Regions from separate parts of the Homo sapiens genome. Here region 1 is linked to region 2. The links are contacts of gene promoters, found by promoter capture Hi-C in human tissues and cell types (Jung and others, 2019). All regions are on one chromosome and are shown on one strand. The core of a region is centred on a gene start or on the middle of the fragment in contact, and the rest is flanking DNA. Distances in the headings are between cores, read along the strand shown.

What was found. Contacts are between HindIII fragments. The study calls those that stand out against the background at their distance.
Region 1: a contact is called between a fragment that was not itself captured here and the fragment with the promoter of RARG in region 2, in 3 of the 25 tissues and cell types used here (mesenchymal stem cells, neural progenitor cells and ovary).

Annotation. Positions count from the first base shown.
Region 1 is chr12:53,272,024-53,276,977 of GRCh38, reverse strand. It overlaps ESPL1 (extra spindle pole bodies like 1, separase), which reads right to left. Exons shown (of 31, transcript NM_012291.5): 6 at 4,121-4,257; 7 at 1,968-2,161; 8 at 119-358. Among named protein-coding and RNA genes, the nearest start is that of ESPL1, 6.2 kb to the right of the region's middle. RefSeq lists enhancers at 1-233, 234-734. The HindIII fragment of the contact is 8,629 bases long and covers 1-4,954 here.
Region 2 is chr12:53,229,797-53,234,522 of GRCh38, reverse strand. It overlaps RARG (retinoic acid receptor gamma), which reads left to right and starts at 2,314. Exons shown (of 10, transcript NM_000966.6): 1 at 2,314-2,549; 2 at 3,288-3,354. RefSeq lists silencers at 2,129-2,178, 2,499-2,628. The HindIII fragment of the contact is 27,501 bases long and covers 1-4,726 here.

The DNA.
Region 1 (4,954 bases), core at 1,930-4,429, 42 kb before region 2:
CCCATGGCCACAAGATGAAGGGAGAGCTCAGGGCTGTGGAGAGGGAAACTGGTTCTCAAGAGGGTGAGAGGACCTAGGGCAAGGAGCAAGAGTGGCCTCTGCAGCTACTACTCCTTACCAGTTGGTCTGCTGCGTAAAGTCGTGGTAGCAGAGCACCTGAGCCAGTTCTACCAGGTGGGTGGCTCGTGCCCAGGCCCCGGCTGGTGTCTCCTCGGGGCTCAGCTCCAGGAGGTCACAGATGATGTTGAAGCGTTCCTGTCCAGTGTCGGCCCGCACCGCCTTGTAGGCCTGCAGCTCCTCCCTCAGCAGGAGGGCCAGGGTCTCCGGGTCCCAGCCACTGAGGCTGTCTCGCAGAGTCCTGAGAGAGGGCATGCTCAGCACCAGGGTGGAACCCAGGAGGCATAAAGCCTCTGCTACCTGCTCCCATGCTGAGGAGCCCCAGCCTTGGCTTGCTCAGTAGGTTTCCAGTCATGGCTTTAAAAATTTAAATCAGATTGCATTGCTCCTCTGTTTAACAAACGGCAGTGGGCTCCCACTAGGAATCATTTCCAAAGCCCTGACCATGGCCTATAAGGCCCTGTGTGATCTGGCCGCTTCCCACTTTGACCACCTTCATTCCATATGGTTCCCCATCCTATACCGCTATTCTACTACCCCCAGCATGCCGGCTTTCTCAAGCATGGTCCCAAGTTTGTTCCCACTTTGCAACCTTTGTATTTACTACTCTCTCTGCAAGGAATTCTCTTCCCTGAGTTTTTTGTTTGTTTTTTTTTAGACAGTCTCACTCTGTTGCCCAGGCTGGAGTGCAATAGCGTGATCACGGTTCACTACAGCCTTGATCTTCCAGGCTCATGTGATCCTCCCACTTCAGCCTCCTAACCAAGTGTAAATAGACTATAGGTTCATGCCACCACATTCGGCTAATATTTTTTAAGTAGAGTCAAGGTCTCGCTTTGTTGCCCAGGCTCCCTGAGATCTTTACAAAGTAGATTCCTTCACATCCTCAGGTCTCATCTATCACTTCTTCAAAAAGGGTTTTCCTAAATAACCCACCTCAAGTTGCTCCCTCTTTTAGCAAATCAGTTTAATTGTCTTCATAGAGCATACGTGAAGGCTGGGCGCACTGGCTCATGCCTGTAATCCTAGCACTTTGGGAGGCCAAGGTGGAAGGATCACTTGAGCTCAGGAGTTCAAGACCAGCCTAGGCAACATAGTGAGACCTTGTCTCTATTAAAAAAAAAAAAAAAAAAAGGAACAGACACAAAATGCAAAATGTACTTTTTAAAAATATCTCCCCAAGTAGAATATAAGCTCCATGAAAGCAAGACCACTGTCACCACTATACCCCCCAAGTAGCACAGTGGCTAGCATACAGTGGGCACTCAATGAATAACTAATGAATGAAGGAATTAGTATTTTTCAGACATAAAGATGAAAGGACATGACCATGAGTACCAAAAGCCACCCTATCCATGGGAGAAACATGGTTGACCCCCTCCCCAACTCACTTTTTTTTTGAGATGGAGTCTCCCTCTGTCACCCAGGCTGGAGTGCAGTGGCACGATCTCGGCTCACTGCAACCTCCGCCTCCCGGGTTCACGCCATTCTCCTGCCTCAGCCTCCCGAGTAGCTGGGACTACAGGCACCCGCCACCACGCCCAGCTAATTTTTGTATTTTTAGTAGAGATGGGGTTTCACCGTATTAGCCAGGATGGTCTCGATCTCCTGACCTCATGATCTGCCCGCCTCGGCCTCCCAAAGTGCTGGGATTACATGTGTGCTGGGATTACATGTGTGAGCCACTGTGCACGGCCAATGCCCAGCTAATTTTTGTATTTGTAGTAGAGACGGGGTTTCACCATGTTGGCCATGGTCTCAAACTCCTGACCTCAAGTGATCCACCCGCCTCGGCTTCCCAAAGTGCTGGGATTACAAGCATGAGCCACTGCGTCTGGCCCTCAACTCACTTTAGCTGTAGCTCCTTGTCTCCAGCCCTGGCCGCATCCATCTTGACCCGAACCCAGAAAGTGACTGGCTCAGCCATGTGTTCAGGGCTACAGGGTTGCAGGGCTGCCAGCCACAAAATCACCATCTTGCAGCCCTGGGCCTGTTTACCCAGTTTCTTCAAACTCTCTACTTGTAGCCGGAAGCACCTGTGCAACTGACCAGAGAAAGGGAACAGACCAAACTGGAGAGGAACCAGTGAGTGTGTATGGTGGAAGGGGATATGCATGCAATAGGTACATACACCACATGAGGGGGCGGGGTTGGCAGGTGGGCCTCCTGAGCCACACCCACCCAAGGCAGGAGACACCTAAGAATGAAATACTCTGAGTGCCTTCAACTCAGAGGCTGCAATCCACTCCACCCCTATGTTCATCATCCACACCCTTGAAAACCTGCTTCTCCTGTAATCCTTCTCAGCAAATGGCACTGCCTTCTCCTGAGTAAGAAATGTGGGGCCATCTCTGATGTTCCCTTCTCTCGCTCTCCCTCCCGCCAGTCACCTACCAGGTTAATCCTTGGCTTCTCGCACCGATCCACTGCATTCCATCCCTCGTGCAGCTGCTTCAGTTCAGCCCACCCTTCCCTGCCTAGAATACTATAGCAGCCTGATTACCCGGTCTTTTCTCCTGCACTCCATTCATCACAGCGAAGTCAGGGAAATCCAAAATGCCTGTCTGCTGTCATGCCTCCACTTAAATCCTTTAGAGGCTTATCATCTCAGTTAAGATGAAACCCAAGCCCCTCTATGACTCATCTTGCTTGCCAATCCCGCCAATGCATCAGTTCACAGGTATTCTTGCTTAAGAACACTGGTTCTTGCCCAGCGCGGTGGCTTGCGCCGGTAATCCCAGCACTTTGGGAGGCCGAGGCGGGTGGATCATGAGGTCAGGAGTTCAAGACCAGCCCGGCCAAGATGATGAAACCCCCGTCTCTACTAAAAATACAAAAATTAGCCAGGCATGGTGGCGCATGCCTATAATCCCAGCTACTCAGGAGGCTGAGGCAGAGAATTGCTTGAACCCAGGAGGTGGAGGTTGCAGTGAGCCGAGATCGTGCCACTGCACTCCAGCCTGGGTGACAAAGCAAGAGCAAGACTCAGTCTCCAAAAAAAAAAAAAAAAAAAAAAAAAAAAAACCAAAAAACCAAGAACCCAGGTTCTCACTCTCCTTGCTCAAAGGACCACCTGGGGGATCTTTGAAAATATTCAGATGTGAGATGGAGTCTTGCTCTGTAGCCCAGGCTGGAGTACAGTAGCACAATCTCGGCTCACTGCAAACTCCACCTCCTGGGTTCAGGCAATTCTCCTGCCTCAGCCTCCAAAGTAGCTGGGATTACAGGCACATGCCACCACGCCTGGCTAATGTTTGTATTTTCAGTAGAGACGGGGTTTCACCATGTTGGACAGGCTGGTCTCAAACTCCAGACCTCAGGTGATCCACCTGCCTCAGCCTCCCAAAGTGCTGGAATTATAGGCGTGAGCCATCACGCCCGGCAAACACTAGAGATTCTGATGCAATTAACTCGGGGCAGACATTAGAATTTTCTTAAAGGTCACTCAGGTGATTCTAATGTGCAGCTTGGCTGGAAACCAGTAGCTTAGGACCAGGCTAAATATAAAAAGTGAGTCAGGCCGGCTGCGGTGGCTCACACCTGTAATCCCAGCACTTTGGGAGGCTGAGGCAGGCGGATCACCTGAGGTCTGGAGTTTGAGACCAGCCTGGCCAACCAAAATGGTGAAACCCCGTCTCTACAAAAAATACAAAAATTAGCTGGGCGTGGTGGTGGGCACCTGTAATCCCAGCTACTTGGGAGGCTGAGGCAGGAGAATTGCTTGAACCTTTGCTGAGGCAAAGGTTGCAGTGAGCCAAGATTGTGCCACTGCACTCCAGCCTGGGCGACAGAGCGAGACTCGTCTCAAAAAAAAAAAAAAAAAAAAATGAGTCAACAGTAAGTAACAGTACAGTGAGGTTTGGGAAACACTGCTCCAGATACTGGTGTCAACATGCTGCTATTAACCTCCCACTCCAAGGCAGGGTGCTGGTGAGGCCCTTCCCCGCTCCCCCCGCTCCCCAACCACATAAGCTCCTTTCCTGCATCTCTCATTCCCTTGTACCTTCTCAGGAGGCACCTCGGGATAAGTGCCTGGCTTCACCAAACCCAGGTGCTGACAGAGCGGCTCAGAGATGGCACAGGCCTCGGCATAGAGCTTGTGACTATAGAAGCTGTAGGCCAAATTACTGGTGTAAGAAGCTGCAGGGGAGAAAAGGCACAATTGACCATAGGAAAGGCTCCCACCACCCTCTCCTCCTGGAGAGGCAGCAGAGATCAGCTGGATCTGTGGTCAGTTCAGCAGCTTCCAGATCAGACAGGAACCCCTACTGCTAGGAATGGGGAAGGGGCGGCTCTCCCCTTCCTGCCCCAAATAGGCCCATGCCCTTCACACCACTCAGCCCATCTGCACTCATTTTACAAACGAGACCCCCTCCTGCCTCAGCACTGGCTGTTTCTTCTGCCAGGGATGTTCTTTTCCAGGAACCCACATGGCTGACTCCCTCACATCCTCCAAGCCTTTGCTCATGTCACCCTCTCAATGAGGTCTACCCTGACCACCTGATTTAAGGTGGTAACTTGCCCCCCGTCATGCACCTTAGACTCCCAATTCCCTTTCTTATCCTGCTCTACTTTTCCTTTCCCCCACATTTCTTATCACGTTCTAATATGTTGATAATTCACTTATTTACTGAATCTGTTTATCTTTTCCCCCCAAACTAGAACGTGGCTCCATGAGGGAAGGAAACTTTGTTTTGCTTACCGACACATCCAAGTACTCCAAATAGTGCGTTGCACACAGTGAGTACTCAACAAATTTTTTTTTTTTTTTTTTGAGACAGAGTCTTGCTCTGTCGCTCAGACTGGAGAGCAGTGGCACGATCTTGGCTCACTGCAA
Region 2 (4,726 bases), core at 1,065-3,564:
GGCGGTAGAGGGGGCGGGGGTGGAAGCAGTGGCAATCCCAAGGGGAGGGGCCGGCATAGGGCGGGTCTTCCTGGGCATCGCTGCTTGGCTGCTGTCGTCGGCTGGGGACGAGGAGGCCGCCAGAAGGGAGGAGCTACAGTTACCAAGACGGATGGATAGACAAACGCCCACCAGAGACAAAGACCCGGGCAGACAGACAGACAAACCAAGACAAAGGGAGGGCAGAGACAGTTGGAATTCTGACTCCCTCTGTTTTCAGAGGCTACCCCAAGTGTTTTGTCCCCCGATTTAGGCTTCCCTGGCCCCATTTGCTACCTAGATGCACTGTCTCAGAGCTCCAGCTGTAGATCTTTGGGACCAACCCTAAGCCCCTCTACAGAAGGAGAAGGGAAGAGTTCAGAGAGATGATACTCAGCAGGGAGAGGAGAGTGTCACGGGTGGTGCCTGGTTCTGTGTCAGAATGCCTGGCCAAGGAGGGAGTGGTGCCCTTGCCTGGTTCATGAGGACAGGAGGCTCATTCACTGTAAACCAAGTACAGATGTGCTGGAAGGGGGAGGGGGAAATTAGGGCCACATTCCCAAACCACAACTGGGCCCGCCCTCCTCCCACCAGCCACCACTAGGGCAGGGCAGGAGGGGTTAACTTTGCAGCCTCTTGGCAGGAGCCCTGCCACACAGGCGGGGCGCCATCCCACCCCAGCCTGGACGCCTGGGTCCAACTCCCTGACACCCGCCCCTCCCACACTGCTGAGAGCTGCTCCCAGGGTAACCAAGCAAAGTCAACAGCAGCTAGGCCACCTGGGGACGGGACCCTGGAGTATCTATTCCTAGCTCTTCCTATCCCTGGAGTGAAAGAGAGGGCTTGTCTGCACCCCCATTGCCATCTCCCATTCCCTGAGGTAACCACAGCATGCCTCTTCTTTCCCCCATCTCCTTCACCTGACTTTGGCTACCAAAAGCAGCCTTTCCCAGGAGGGAGGACACCTGGCCCCCAGGGGGGAGCAAGGACAAAGCCAAGTAATTCCAGTATGGAAAATGTGACGTGACCCAGGAGTCTGTGTCCCAGGTCCTGGTCACCCTGCGAGCATTGCTGGGGAAGGTACTTTGGGTATGTCTGTCCAGCCTATCAGCCTAGCTCAGACTCTCCCCTTCTCCTCTTTCTCCCTCCCAACTCCAGTCCCCATGGGAGTGTTTGGGATCCGTGCACAGAGCTTGGACTGCAGACCCATTCTTTTCTCTCCCTCTGTCCTCAGTAGAATGCAGAGTGAAACCACTGGGTTCTCTCACTCTAGGGTTGAGAGTCTGTCTATGTTGAAGCAGATAATGCCCCCATCAGACACAGACACTCACTCTCGGCACTGGCATGCGCACGCGCTTGCACAGACACACACACACACACACGCACACACACACACACCCGGAGTCAACAGCATTCATGGCACATCTACCAGGCAGGCAGGCAGGCAGGCCGGTGCTGGCTAGGGCAGACACACACCCTCTGCCTGGGCTTTCTCTCTCACACCCAGCCCAAGGCTCCTCCCACTCCCAGCCACAGTTCCTCCTGCCCTCCTCTCCAGCCTCTCCCCTTCCAAATCCAGGCCTAAAGGTGGGGGACAACTGGCAGCCAGGGACCCAGGCGCCCTAACTCCTGGAGCTTACTCCAGGCAAGATGACAGGGAAGATGTCTGTGAGCCCTGGCCTCAGCACCCCCAGCAACAGCCACTAGTCAACCAGTTTGCTCCTGGGACCAAAGGACTGAGGTGGGCTAGGGGAAGGGAGAGGCTACTTGGATCTGCAGGTGAAGGCTGAGCAAAGAGTAAGGGCAGGAGCATCTATTCTAGATCTGGCATACTCCTGCCCGGCCAATCCAGCACTGGGAGGGAGTGGGTACCGCCCCATTGCCTACCCTGGGGAGGCGCCAGAGACTGGCCTCGCAAGAGTCACAGCCTGGCCACAGACAACTCAACTAGTCCCCCCAAAAGGCAGAAAGGAGAAAAGTGCCAGAGAGAAAAGGTTGGCATCACGGGGCCAGGACACTGACCTCCTCTGCCAGCCGTGCCCGGCCTCCCAGAGGATGGAGTCACGGAAGCCTAGCAAATGGGAAGGGCAGAGACCCAGGCGTCCCGGGCCGCCCCGCCCAGTCCCCCTCCCGCCCACCCATCCCTCCGCCCCCCAGCCCCAGGGCACAGAGGAGGGAGCCGGGCAGGGGCAGGCAGGGGAGGGAGGAGCGAGGGCGGGAGGGGGAGGAGGGAGTTGGGCAGGGAGGGAGGTTGGGGGGGGGGTGGGGAGGGAGAAAAAGAAAGAAAATATTTTCCGTGTCCCCGCCTGCAGAGTCAGTGTGCGGTTTGGGAGAAAATGTGTCGGATATTTTGGGGCGGTCACGTGGGCGGGCGGGCTCCGAGAGGCCCCGGGACAGTCCCAGCCTAGAGCCGTGCCCCCCCAGGAGCCCCCCAGTACGGCGAGCCCCGGACATTGCGACGCTCCATCCAAGAGACTGCCCGACGCCGGGACCTCGGGGCTCCGCCGCCTCCCTTCCCCCTCCCACTCCAGGTGAGTCAGGCGGGGAAGCAGGCTCGCCCGCCCCGTCGCCTGGGTCCTCCGGCGAGGCGGCTGGGGGAGGGGGCGCGGAGGAGCTGCACGGGCGAATGCCCTCCCGAGGCTGGCCAGGCTGGCCGCCGGGCTTGAGGGGGGCTTCTTGCCCCGACCCAGGCCAGTCCTGCTGTGGGAAGGGAATGGGGAAGATTTTAACAGGCTGAGGATGGGCTGGGTCATCTGCCCTTCATTTTGGTGCATAGCAGAGGACAGCATTTGGGGAAGTCTTCAGCCAGGGGGCATTCCTCCTTATATTTTTGTGCTGGGAATGTGAGAGAAGACAGGGTTTCCTCTCGCGGGGAAAGACTACCACCCCCTTACCCCCGGGCTCTGAGGGGTAGATTTGATGTTCCATGCTGGTCCAAGTTCCTCCCTCCCCAGTGGAATGGGACAGCTTGGACATCAGAAGGCAAGGAAAACGTCCAGAGGCAAGTGAGCCTGGCCCTCCGCGTCCAGGAGTTCCGAAGGACTGGTGCATAGGATAGGGATCTGTGAACTTTCCTTGAAGCGCTGGATTCCCTCCCACACGTTCCCAGCCCAGGTGCGAGCCTTGGCTCCCTCCAGCCAAGGTGGGGGGCACCTCTGGAGTATTCTTGAGGGAAGCCCAAATGGAACAAAGAAAGAGCAGGAAGACCGGGACAGGGACCCAGGAGTGCTGGTCCCAGAGTTCCACTGACGCTGCCTCTCTGTCTTTAGCAGCTACGGCCCAGTTCCCTCAACCTGACCCAGTATGTAGAAGCCAGTCTCTGCAGGCGGCCAGCGGGTAAGAAGATGCTTGGTTGTTAGTGGTGGTGGGGGCAGGGGAGCCTGAGTAGGAGGTCTTCAGGGCAAGAAACTGAGATGACTGTCCCGCTTTAGGGCTCTGGTCCTGGGCAGCTGGAATCCCAATCCTCAAGTCTGAGGCTTCTGCCCTTAGGGTCAGATGCTGAGTTGGGGTCAAGGACCATAGCCAGCATCTCATATCCTTGAGGCAAGTAGAGAGAAGACAGGGGAGTGGGGGTAGTGTGTGCAGGGAGCCTGGAGCTTGGGTATCCCATATAGACAGACATACACACACACACACACACACACACACACACACACACACACACACACGCACTGTGGCCTACAGCCTAGTAGGCAGCATGGGGCACGCCCCCCCACACCCCGGCACACCCCCACCCCTGGCTCAGAAAGCCACCTAACTGGCACCTCCAGTTCCCCCCTCTGCCCCACCCTGTCCATGCCCTCTGATGCCCACACACATTCCACTGGCATTGCCTGCCTGCCTCCTGGGCACTGCCCCTCCCTGGGGCTAGTAGGGTGGAGGGAGGGCACCTGGGGATGAGAGGTGGAGACTCAAGGGTCTGGACTCCCCCAGGGATGGCACAATGCCAAGGAAGCCTGGCCCACTGCTGCCTCCTGGGGAGCAGGCTGGGGGCCCAGGCTAGAGCAGAGGATGCCTGGGTTCTCTGCCCAGGCTGGAGATGGGGTCATGGAAAAAGGTGGTCGTGTTTATACAGAGGGGAGGGGGGCAGCGGGTGGAGAGTGGCCGACAAGAGCAGCTTTGTTCCAGGCTCTGGAGCGGGCAGGGCGACAGGGAAACACACCCCCCTCCATCCGGCAGCCCCCTTCATCCATGCCCTCCCCTCAACTCCACCTCAGCTCTAAGAGAAGCAGCTTTGTAAGAGCCCCTCTCCCCTAGTCTGTCATCCCCGCTGCCCCACCATTTGAGATGGCATCTTAGTAGAGGAAGAATGTTCTCTACTTTCCATGAGTCCCCCAAAGAACCAAGGCACCTGGGGCCTCAGTTTAGGACTTCCTTTTACTCTGCACTGCCTTCAATTCCTTAGTCCATTCTCCTACCCTGGGTTTAAGACCCTCCCCTTCTCTTCCCAGCCACGACAGAACCAAGGCTCAGAAATGGGAGGAATCTCTACCCCCTTCCTCTCTTCACTCAACTCCCAAGTCCCTTCTCTGAGGCAAAATAAGAGGAAGGCCAAGGACAACTCTCATTGGCTCACATGCAGCATCATTCCTTGGTGAGGATCAGGAGCTGAGCATCCCTCTGTGGGGACCCCCACTGCCCTACCTGCCTGTGTTTCCCATTGGTAGGTGAGAAGCAAAGACAAGGAGGGCTAAGGCAGAGAGCCCTG